3 separate regions of the Homo sapiens genome follow, and regions 1 and 2 are each linked to region 3. Evidence: promoter capture Hi-C in 16 types of primary human blood cells and fetal thymus (Javierre and others, 2016). All regions are on one chromosome and are shown on one strand. Each heading gives the region's core, a stretch centred on a gene start or on the middle of the fragment in contact. The rest is flanking DNA. Distances are from core to core; before and after follow the strand shown. Region 1 holds the start of SUMO1 (small ubiquitin like modifier 1). Region 2 overlaps STRADB (STE20 related adaptor beta). Region 3 holds the start of ALS2 (alsin Rho guanine nucleotide exchange factor ALS2).

The links. Contacts are between HindIII fragments. The CHiCAGO score rates a contact against its expected background, and 5 or more counts as called.
Region 1: a contact is called between a fragment that was not itself captured here and the fragment with the promoter of ALS2 in region 3, in 2 of 17 cell types (erythroblasts and fetal thymus). The highest score is 7.6, in erythroblasts.
Region 2: a contact is called between a fragment that was not itself captured here and the fragment with the promoter of ALS2 in region 3, in 1 of 17 cell types (naive B cells). The highest score is 5.2, in naive B cells.

What each region holds. Positions count from the first base shown.
Region 1 is chr2:202,235,135-202,239,030 of GRCh38, forward strand. SUMO1 (small ubiquitin like modifier 1) reads right to left here and starts at 3,463. Exons shown (of 5, transcript NM_003352.8): 1 at 3,306-3,463. The coding sequence starts at 3,317. RefSeq lists a silencer at 2,928-3,117. The HindIII fragment of the contact is 685 bases long and covers 1,069-1,753 here.
Region 2 is chr2:201,453,028-201,456,940 of GRCh38, forward strand. STRADB (STE20 related adaptor beta) reads left to right here. Exons shown (of 12, transcript NM_018571.6): 2 at 1,719-1,825. The coding sequence starts at 1,814. Among named protein-coding and RNA genes, the nearest start is that of STRADB, 3.2 kb to the left of the region's middle. The HindIII fragment of the contact is 3,133 bases long and covers 1-2,976 here.
Region 3 is chr2:201,779,467-201,783,027 of GRCh38, forward strand. It overlaps ALS2 (alsin Rho guanine nucleotide exchange factor ALS2), which reads right to left and starts at 1,467. Exons shown (of 34, transcript NM_020919.4): 1 at 1,411-1,467. RefSeq lists a silencer at 1,137-1,306 and enhancers at 1,437-1,506, 1,517-1,746, 1,757-1,826. The HindIII fragment of the contact is 4,023 bases long and covers 1-3,434 here.

The sequences.
Region 1 (3,896 bases), core at 161-2,660, 460 kb after region 3:
TAAGCCACCCTACTCAGCCATTAAGAAGTGTTTCACTCAAATTCCAAAAACAATCATTTTTTCATTAATCAATGGAGGACCCAGCAATTGAAGTCTTGTGTGTATTTAATGTCCACCGATTTTAACCTTGTTATTACTCAATTTCACTATTTTAACACCAGACAATAACCTTCTGAGAGCTGCCTCAGAAAACACATCACTCTAAAATAACTTGATTCAAATTAAGGTTGTCTTCTTAGGACAGTGGTTTAGTCTCATGCTGATATTAAACAGTACAGGATTTGGAGATTCTTGTTCTCACTTATAAACCTCTTAAGATTAAGGGTTCAGCTTTATAACTCTTTTAAGTCTTTAGCACTCAACACTGAACTTGTACTGGGTCTTCTTTGTTTTGAGTCAGGGTCTCTATCGCCCAGGCTGAAGTACAGTGGCATGATCTTGGCTTGCTGCAACCTCGACCTCGCAGGCTCAGGTGATCCTCCCATATCAACCTCCTGAGTAGCTGGGACTACAGGTACAGGCCATCATGCCTGGCTAATTTTATTTTTTGTAGAGACGACGTCTCTCTATATTGCCCAGGCTGGTCTCAAACTGGGCTCAAGCAATCCTCCCCCACTTAGGCCTCCCAAAGTGCCAGGATTACAGGTGTGAGGCGCTGCACCCGGCCAATGTACTGAGTCTTTTTTTTTTTTTTAAACGGAGTCTCACTCTGTCGCCCAGGCTGGAGTGCAGTGGAGTGATCTCCAGTTACTGCAACCTCCGCCTCCCGGGTTTAAGCAGTTCTCCTGCCTCAGCCTTCTGAGTAGCTGGGATTACAGGTGCGCACCACCACGCCTGGCTATTTTTTGTATTTTTAGTAGAGACGGGGTTTCACCATGTTAGTCAGGCTGGTCTAGAACTCCTGACCTCGTGATCCACCCAACTTGACCTCCCAAAGTGCTGGGATTACAGGCTTAAGCCACTGCACCCGGCGAGTCCTAATGATGTTGGTCAATCAGCCTACAGCAACAGTTCTCAAACTTTTTGTTCTCAGGAATCTTACACTTAAATTTATTTAGAATCCCATAAAGCTTTTGTTAGGTTGGTTACATCTATTGATGTTTACAGTATTAAACACTGAAAACTGAGAAATGTCTTAAATATTAATTCATTTTAAAATACCAACAAACCTGTTATATGTTAACAAATATATATTTTTATTAAAAATATTTTTCAAAACAAAATTAATGAAAGAGTGGGACTGTTACACATTTTTGCAAATCTCTTTAATGTCTGGCTTAATAAAAACAGCTAAACAGCTGGATTTTCACATCTGCTTCCACATTTAATTTGTTTTATCACAAGTCATGTTAGTTTCTAGAAACGTCCATTGAACACTCATGAAAGAATGACAGTGAAAAAGACAAATAATGTCCTAGTATGAACATGAAATAAAAGAATCTATTTGTATCCTAGGTCCTTCATTTCTTTATGTATCTCTTAAATAACCTGACTTCAAAATGGAGCAATAAATTCTACATTTTATAATTATTTCTTTATGTTGCTCTTCCATCAGTCTACAATAAATTTCAAAATGCTTCCTAGACGCTTCTGGGAAACAAAATAAAAGGCTGACGAAACTAAGCATTTACGCCTATACTTTTCTTCCTAGTAACCAAGTAAACAACTACCTAGGGAAACACAATGCCCACTTGGGAATTAATCTAGATTATTAGTAAGTAGATCCATCCAAAATTCATCTAGATTATGGTTAAGCTTTAAAATGTTAAGTGTACATTTTGTACAATAGTACCAATCTGCAAAAACCTCACTTGCTCTCACGAAATGGTACAAAACTGGGTTAAAAGCCAAGGGAATAGGTGTGTTAAATTTAAAAGTTCAAGTACATCGTGGAGTTGAATGAAAAATAGTTTTCTGAATAACTACCATTAAATGAGTAAAAGTCCAAAAATAATGTAAAAAGTCAAAGTCGGCTGGGCGCGGTGGCTCACGCCCGTAATCCCAGCACTTTGGGAGGCCGAGGTGGGCGGATCACGAGGTAAGGAGATCGAGACCAGCCTGGCCAATATGGTGAAACCCCGTCTCTACTAAAAATACAAAAATTAGCTAGGTGTGGTGGTGAGTGCCTGGTGGTGAGTGCCTGTAATCCCAGCTACTCGGGAGGCTGAGGCCCGAAAATTGCTTGAACCCAGGAGGCGGGAGGGTGCAGTGAGTGGAGATCGCACCACTGCACTCCAGCCTGGCGACACAGCGAGACTCCGTCTCAAAAAAAAAAAAAAGTCAAAGTCGTCTGAGCAAACAAAAGACCAGACAAAAACTTTATGAATTAAAAACTAGCCATAAAGTTGTTTAATTAGAACAGGATGAGGAAGAAAAGGGGAAATCGATCACTCCTGATTAAGTGCAAATCCCAAGTAAATTATTGATACTAACAGTGAGCTGGAGCACTTTGCCTTACCAGGCAACTTTCTGCAAATATTCTGCAACGACTCTACATACACAAAGTTTTCCTATGCTTTTCCTCAAAAATATGAGACTTCCTCAGGTTAATGCCCAGGTGAGATGCTTTTTGTTGCTCTAGCAGTTTAGTTCTATTTTCTTTCTTGGTTATTATGAATGCTCTCTTACAACTGGAGAGCTAGGATGAACCAATCCCGAGTAAGAAACGGGAAAGTACAGTAAAGAGGCGACAGCTCTGCACCCCCACACGGAAAAAGACTCAGAGGAGAGCAGCGGCATCCTTGCCCTAGCTCCAATCCGAACGGAGGCAGGATTCCCAACAACATCGGACGTCTCCCTCCCTCGCCGCCCCACGCCCTCCCGACGAAGAAGCAAAAAGTGGAGAGTCCAGCCGCTTCTCAGGGCCACGGAGCCTCCCAGTCAGGGATTCTCTCCCGTTACATAACTAAGGCCTAGGGCCCTGCTTCTGCGATTAGTCCTCTGGAAGGAGACGGACGGGTTCTCCAGAGACCCTCCCAGGGAGGTGGAAGCGGGGCTCTGCACCTAGTCGACCCGGGAGAAAGAAGTGGGACGACATGAGGGAGGCCGCCACCAAAGGCGGTGGGGTACGGGGGTGATGAGCGAGCCCGGAGAGGGGCGGGCGGCTCCGGGAGCCCCGCAGCAGGCCCCGGCACCTCCGGCCGTAGTCGGCTCCTCTCCCTCGCCTGCCTAGTCCCCACCGGCCGCCCCCTCCCCCATTCCGCGCTCCCCTCCCCCGCGCCTCCATCCCCGACCCCAGCCTAGCGGCAGGCAGACCTGCAGGGAAGGCCCTGGCCACCGCCGTTGGATGGCTCCCAGCCCGGTACCTGGTCAGACATGATGACGGTGGCTTCACCCGGGGGTCTCCGCACAGCAGCGGCCTCGGGTAAGCAGAACCTCGCTCCGGGGTTTACAAATCCTTCTCCCTTCCCCACAGCACAACACCGCGGCTGCAGTAACTTCCGCTACGCCTCGCGTCACTTCCGCTTCGCGCAGGGAGGAGGGAGAGAGAGAAGAGAGGAAAGACAAGGCGGGAAATGGGTGGGGGAGCAGCCAAGGGGAGGGGCAGGCTGTGGAGCTGCTTTGCCGGTGGTCGCGCGGGTGAACGGCAGTTTTGTCAGCTCCTTCAAGGACCAGGTCCTGCGCATCAGTACTAGGGCCATCCCCCAGGAGCAAAGGTCCTGGCTCCATGTCTCAATGTTTGGAGCCACTCTCACAACCTAGATTGCTCTCTCCGTTACACCTTGCGCGTCTCTGACGACTGAGCCGAGATACTTCTTTTGTCTCCTCCCAGCCTTGCTCATCAACCCCCAACCCCCAAATATGTTTATTTGAATGCCAGTACTTCTAGCTCTAGAACCAACATTTTCGGTTAACCAGCACCCTTGCCAAACACATGACCGTGATTTAAAACAACA
Region 2 (3,913 bases), core at 160-2,659, 330 kb before region 3:
GCAAATCCCCCACCCCCACCCCTTTGCTGGGTGCAGCTGCTGCCTTGACCTCAAAATGTCTTGTAAAATTATCTCTTAATAGTCTGGTGTATCTAAGGCAAAAATCTCTGAGATTAAACCACCCCATAGGGACAACCCTTTTATTACTAACAATTCTTACCAGATTGTGTCTGTTTCTTCTGAGCTTTTCTGAAAAAGAGAAAAAAATAGACAACGTAATGGAGTTTCACATTATTAAGACAAAATCAGTAACAACTTGCTGACATTGAGTGAAAAAAGCAGGATACAAAATCATGATAACCAGAAAATTTGGTTAATCATGACATCCATAACCCTTCTGCTTGTGGGAAGGTCAGCTACAAGTGGCCAGGGTCTTGTCTGCCCTGATTACCAGCGGGTGTCCACAGTGCCTGACCCATGGTAACCACTCATTAAACACTTGTGTAATGATTACTTGGCTGTTAACAGATTAACAGTGTATTGACTATGATGTGTAGTTTCTTCATTTACTTGGATATCTCCTTAGAATAGATCACTCCGGGGAATTTTACTGGGTCAAAAAGTATGAATATTTTCATGGTTATTGAAACATTTGACAACCTGCTTTCCAAATAAACCTTATAGTTTTGTACTGCCATCAGTACATTTGAGTGTACCTTTCAAAGCATAGTTCAAGCTGATACAGTGTTTGCTAATTAGGGGCACTTTGAGATGTAACTCATTTGATTTCATTCACCCTGGAAGGTTGGCAGGGCAGGCATTGCTTTCCTCCTTTTGCAGCACAGCAAACTCCAGTGCTTTAAATTGACGGTAATGAATGGTAGGTGGCTAAATGATCACAGCCTTTCAGGTCCGTCTTCCTCCCAATCTCTACCTTTGGTTCATAGTGAACATCCTGAATAAATTCACCTCTTTCTTTAGCAATAAAATTGGATATTGCTTTATGGTTTTTATGGTTTACAAAATCTTCCCTTTCTCATCCTGCTCACATATTTGTAGATGGGTTCATCAAATTTGGGGAGTTGAAATAATGAAGCACAATTTAGATGAAAGAGATGATGTTGGTTAGATGTAAAGGGATGCTCTGAACCCACAAACTTACAAGATTGCCACCCTTTCTATTAGTAAAGGTCTGGAAACCGTGGATGGTGCTTTTGTATCTCCTTGAATTAATTTCCTAGTCTGTTATTCTGATTCTTTCCCATATTTGCTGGTCAGGGACCCCAAATGATTTAATACGTAATTAATCCAATAAGAAAGGGCTTTGGAAAGTCTCAAAGTTTAGTTGTAATATGTGGAACCATTGAAAATTCTTGGGGTTTATTGTAAGTGACACTGTTTATATCAAAAGTGGGCCAAAAATTGGTTTTCTACATTGCTTTCAAATTTGCTCAGCGTTCTTTAAAAAACAAACAAAAAACAGTATAGAAAAGATAGGGAAGGAGAAATGCAAACATATTGAGGCTTTGGAAATATTCAGGACTTCTTTTTGTTTTCACTCTGCTTCTTGGTTGTGATGTCAGATCACAAATAATGTTCAGTAAAAAATAAATGCTCTTTAAAGATACTTTTCAGGAATGTCTCCTTGTGTCAAGGAGTAGCTGCCTAAATATTGGGTATCAGGGAATAGCTGCCTAAATATTGGATGGGTTTAAGGCAACTGGTTCTTTAAGGAACTTTTATGTGAATCTAAATTATTTTGCTTTTGTTTTTTATAGTAGGATATATCTGCATCTTGAAAGGAAGATAAAACAAAAGCCTTCTTTGGAATAGATGGATTTTTGTCACTTTCTGTGTGAACTAAAGTGATTCAATGTCTCTTTTGGTAAGTTTTTGTAAATATAGATCTGATTTTGTTCTGTCAGAGTAGTTGGATGTTAATGCCAAGCCATAATAAAAGGCATATTCTGATGGGATATTCTTATGCTCTGAGATATTGTTTTGACCTGATTGACTTCTGGACTTGAGAAATGAATTACATTCTCATTGAGTTTTTCTTTCTTTCATAAAGAACTTCTCGTATACTTCAATATGTTCATTATTCTAATCTTTTGTCCCATATCTACTTTTTCTCATAGGTGTTATACTTTGATATGCCACCCACACCAGTTAGCTATGCCTTATCTTTTAAATCTTTCAGAAATTCCTTTTACAAATTTCCATCTGACCAAAAGCAAGCCAAACAGTATTAAAAATAACCCCTTTGACTTAACCGAAATAAAATCATTTGGATCAATGTATATATGAGGTATAGCTGCCAACTGGTTTTCTATTTATATTTAGATCCGTGGTATCTACTTTAGATTAAGTAGCTTGAGGACTTTCATCCTGTTTTATACATAATAATAATATTTGAATAGGGAATACTTATATTAAAATGTGGTTTTTAAAAAAGTAATGAGTAGACCACGTGTAGTGGCTCACACCTGTAATCCCAGCATTTTTAGGGGCCAAGGCTAGAGAATCAGTTGAACCCAGGAGTTCAACACCAGCCTAGGCAACATAGTGAGATCCTGTCTGTATAAAATATTAGCCAGACGTAGTGTCATATGCCTGTAGTCTCAGCTACTCAGAGGGTTAAGGTGGGAGGATCCCTTGAACAAGGGATCAAGGCTGCAGTGAACTGTGATCATGCCATTGCATTCCAGCCTGGGTGATAGAGGGAGATCCTGTCTCAAAAAAAAAAAAGGATGAGTATATTTGTATGATGATTTATAGTTTACAAATACTTTCATATATTTCTTTCATAGTTTCAAATTGTGTAAGTTTAGCAGGGCAGGTGGCATTATCCTCATTTTCAGTTTGTCCAAGATTGCAAAAAGTTGGAGCCAGACTCATACCTGCCAATCTATTCTATCAATTACCAAGGCTGAGAGGCAGAACTATGAAGTTAGAAGACTGGATTGTTAGTAATATGGAAAATACATAACACAGTTACTTACATGTTTAAAGTAAAGCATTACCACTTGAAAGAGAAGCTTTATATATCTGGAAAATACACGGAGGTGAAATGTTTTATTCTGTAAAGGAGGGATCAGCAAGCTTTTCTGTAAAGGCCAGATAGTATTTACAGACCCTTTGGTCTTTGTTACAGCTACTTTTCTGCTGAAATACTAGCATGAAAGCAGCCATAGGCAATATATAAATGAATGAATGAATGTATCTGTGTTCCAGTAAAACTTTACTCACAAAAACAGGTGGTGGGTCAGATTTGGCTCATGGACCATAGTTTGCCGACCCTTACTCTAAAGGATTACTTAAGATTTACAATTTTATATCAATTTTTAAGTTGGAAAAGATGTGAAAGGGCATTCAGTCTATTCCCTTCATTTGATAGGCGAGAATTGTGAGATTCAAAGGGCTGTGTGTTGCCCAGGGCTTTCAAATTTTGGAAAAAGAATATCTTAGCCTATTATTCCATAATTATGGGTTTTGTGAAAAATAATAGAATGTGATAATGGGTGATTTATATCGTTAATGATTGTAACTTTAAATCACATTTTTCTGCAATGGTGAAATATTTTAAATTCTTTGAATCGAAATATTTACTTTTTTTCCTTAAACGAGAAATTTGTGCAGTTGGGATAAAGTTGATACTTTTACTTAAGGATTCCTCCCCATTCAAGTTTTACCCTCTATTTGAGAACTAAGAAATGCTGTTTTCAAAGGAGCAGCATATGTAAAAATATCTTCTTTCAGTTTCTTTGTAAGGTCTAACTACTTTTTACTTGGCTATTATGATAATGGATAAAGAAATTATATTCAAAAATATTCAAAGGGAAAAGGTATGTGGGGTGAAGTTCAGAGGAAACCAGGCACAAGCTTTCAAGAATCTTTTCTCAGTGGAGTTCCATAGTATATGCACAGTTCCCCCAGAGTTGTGACATGTGAAATGTTGTCTACTAGGGAAGCT
Region 3 (3,561 bases), core at 217-2,716:
ACCAAAATTACTACAGAACAACTTGAAATCATATTTTATAGCTACTTCCTTAAAATATTCAGTTCCCTTCCCCATCACTTAAGAAAAGAGTCAGTTTGGATCATGATGTAGTGGGAGGAATTAATTATAAAAACAGCTAATATGTATTGAATATTTACCATAAAACAGGCACTGTAATAAATACGATACATGAACCATTACACGTAAAGGTACTGTTATCAGGAAAACATTTTTATCCCCAATTTAGAGACAAGAGAACTGAGGCAGAGAGATTAAATAACTTGCCCAAAATCAAAGATGTAAATGGATGTGACTCTGGGTATGTTCAGATACAAAGCCTAGAATCTTAACCACTATGCTTATGTTATCAAGGTTAAAACACCGTAGTTTACTGCAAAAAATTTTTCACTGCTTTAAATTATTCATTAACTCAAAGGTCAACCGGTCACTCCAAATCATATGATAAATGGGGGGGAAAATGTGGGACCAATAGGTTTGCTGAAGTTTTGTACCTGCTCAGAATAAACATATCACACAATTTTATTCCATATAGCCAAATATAAGGGTAACTGAGTAAAGATCTTCACTTGGGTACAGCAGTCAGTTCCTTCTCCATCCTAAACCAGAAAGAAAGCACTGTTCTTGGATATGCCACTTCAACAAGAGTGTTTTTTCTCTTCCACCATCAAAGCCTTAAGCAATAGAACGATTCTACCAGTCTACTGTTGCCTGTCTCCAAAGCAGCCCTATTATCCGAGGACGAACACCAGCGTCAAGGACCTGTGTTATTTTTCTGGCTTCGCTTCTCAAAATAACTTATCTTCTCCTCTTGATGAATTACTTGATAGGCTCAAAGACTTGCCTAAACTACTAATTCTTATTATCAAAGCTATTTTCTTTCTCCGCAACCGCCTTTTCAAGTAGCCCTTGGTCCACTCTTCAACGCGATTTGCACCCTGTGGCAAGGCCGCCAGGGACACTCAGCAGGGTTCCAGGCCACGGACCCCAGTTTATCAGCTCAGCGCCTAGTGTGGGCATTCAAGAAATTCTCGTGAATGAATAGCTGGAAGGCAGCGTGGGTGGAGGCGGGAAGAGGGGGCTTGAAGGAATTTCACGCAGCTGAGACCACTGCAGCGGCGCCCAGTCTGGGGAGGGAGAGACCGGGGCAAGTGGGAGAACCTGGGGCCAAGGCAGGGGCCGCCTCGGGCGCTGCTGGACCGGCAGGAGCAGTCGATCGCACCCAGAGCTGGGAAAATGCGGGCGCCGTCTCCGCAGGCCCCCCGCAGGGCGCTCTCCGGCCTCGACCACAGCCTCCGCCTAGCTCCCTGTCCCCGGCCTTCCGCATACAAGGGGTCCCAGCCGATAAGCCCTCCTTAGCCAATAGCCAACCCGGGACCCACACTCGCTCACCTGAAGCTCCACCGGCAGCACCGCGCTCCGCATCCGGCGCGAGCTTGGCAACCCAGTGGGTCCGCGGGATCAGCTGATTCATGGAGGGCGGGGCCTCCGGACAGGGCGGGGCTGCAGGGCGACTAGCGAAGGTAAACGAGGGCGCGGGCGGCTCTTGGAATCCGAGCTCCTGGGAATTGTTCTTGGGAGACTGTCGACGGCGTCTGTTGGGGGTCAAAATTGCTGAGAATGCGTTAGGCACTGCAGGCTACGTACTTGGGAGCACAGTCTCTCCCTTAGTTTAGGGCGGAGCTATCAGTCCTGAGATGCGCTTTGATGATGACGTAGAATAGAGTCGTCCAAGCCTAGCTACCCGAGCGCTCCCATGGTAACAGGCGGTGGTGAAAGTGGTTGGGAGCAGCAGTCGTTTGTTACCACCTCAAACTGCAAGGGCCGGAAGTATAAAAGTAAAAAGGCTGAAATATTTTCAAATTGCCTTTATGGACAGTACCCTAACAGTGGTCGCTTCTCCCCCCTACTCCCGCGAATGACGTCATCGCCTCGCGGCCCCGTTTCGCCATTGTATCCTCAATGTGTAAACTTACTGGTTAGTTGCAACCCCAAAAGATGGGGTGGGATAGGAGAAAATGAAGTGGCCTCTCCAGTGATTCCCGTAGTACTCCCCAATATACAATCAGTAAAATCAGCTTTCTTGTCCCGCGCACAGTTTCATAACACTGTTTTTCGCAGCCACAGTCCCACCCCACCCAGCCTGCACTCTCAAGTCCTCCCATGATTTTATGATTTTCCAGAGCTGCCACTCATGTCGCACAGTGGGTGCAAACCTTCTGCTGCTAGGCATTGTGCCATCGCTGGACCTGCAAACATGCAAATATTTAGACCATCAACGACAGATGTGTAGTCGGGTTCTGAAACTCCTATATCCTATTCACCAACACCCTCAACTCAATTTCCTCCCTGATCCTTCGCCCACCTGCAAAACTGTTAGTCTGCAACAGTTCAACCAACCTTGCTCACTCCTGCATCGGTGCAGAAAATCACACAACCCTGAGAATTGGCACCACTGCGAACGAAAAGTGTCCAACTTCAGTCGGGACTTCCACGTGCGACTACGCAATATTGCTGAGCCTAAGACAGTCACATTTACACATTGCTACTCAGATTATCTCCTATTCCCCTCCCCTGCTGTTCCCAGCCCTCACGCTCTTCTAACCTCTTACTGAACTCTACTCACTCACCCGCTTTGGTAAAAATAAAAATAAAAAATTTTGTCTCTTACATCTCTGAGGAAAGTGAGACCACTAGAGGTGAATTTCCTTAAATCCCAAATCCCATCAGCCACTACCACAAAACCTACCTGCAACCAGTTTTGATTTGTTTTGTTTTGTTTAGAGGGAGTCTCGATCTGTCGCCCAGGCTGGAGTGCAGTGGCGCGATCTCGGCTCACTGCAACCTCCGCCTCCCAGGTTCAAGCGATTCTCCTGCCTCAGCCTCCCAAATAGCTGGGATTACAGGTGCCCGCCACTACGCCCGGCTAATTTTTGTGTTTGTAGTAGAGATGGGATTTCACCATGTTGGCCAGCCTGGTCTCGAACTCCTGACCTCAATTGATCCACGTGCCTCAGCCTCCCAAGGTGCTAGGATTACAGGCGCGAGCCACCGAGCCCCGGCTCCTTTTCACCGAGTCCTTTTCTTCTCCCTCTTTCTTCTTAGAAGATCCTGAACTCAGGATCCCTAATCTCCCCAAAGGAAAGACTTTGTTCTGTTGATGAAAAAAGACAAACTTTATAAAATATTTGAAGAGGTTAAATATACTCTGATCGAAACATGAGTAACCATGGCCTGGGACACAGCCTCAAGAAGTCCTGAGAACATGTGCCCAGGGTGGTTGGGTTATAGCTTGGTTTTATACATTTTAGAGAGACAGAAGTTATAGGCAAAGACATAGATCAATACATGGGGGGCCGGTGGTGCTCACAGATTATAGGTGGATTCAGAGACTTTATGATGGGTTGAAAAAGCTAAGCTTTTCCTAAAGAGTTGAAGTTAGCAGAAAGAAATATTTGAGTTAAAATGAAGGGGGTTATAGAAGCCAAGGTTCTTGTTACGTAGATGAAGCTTCCAGGTAGCATATGTTATAGGACCTTAAAA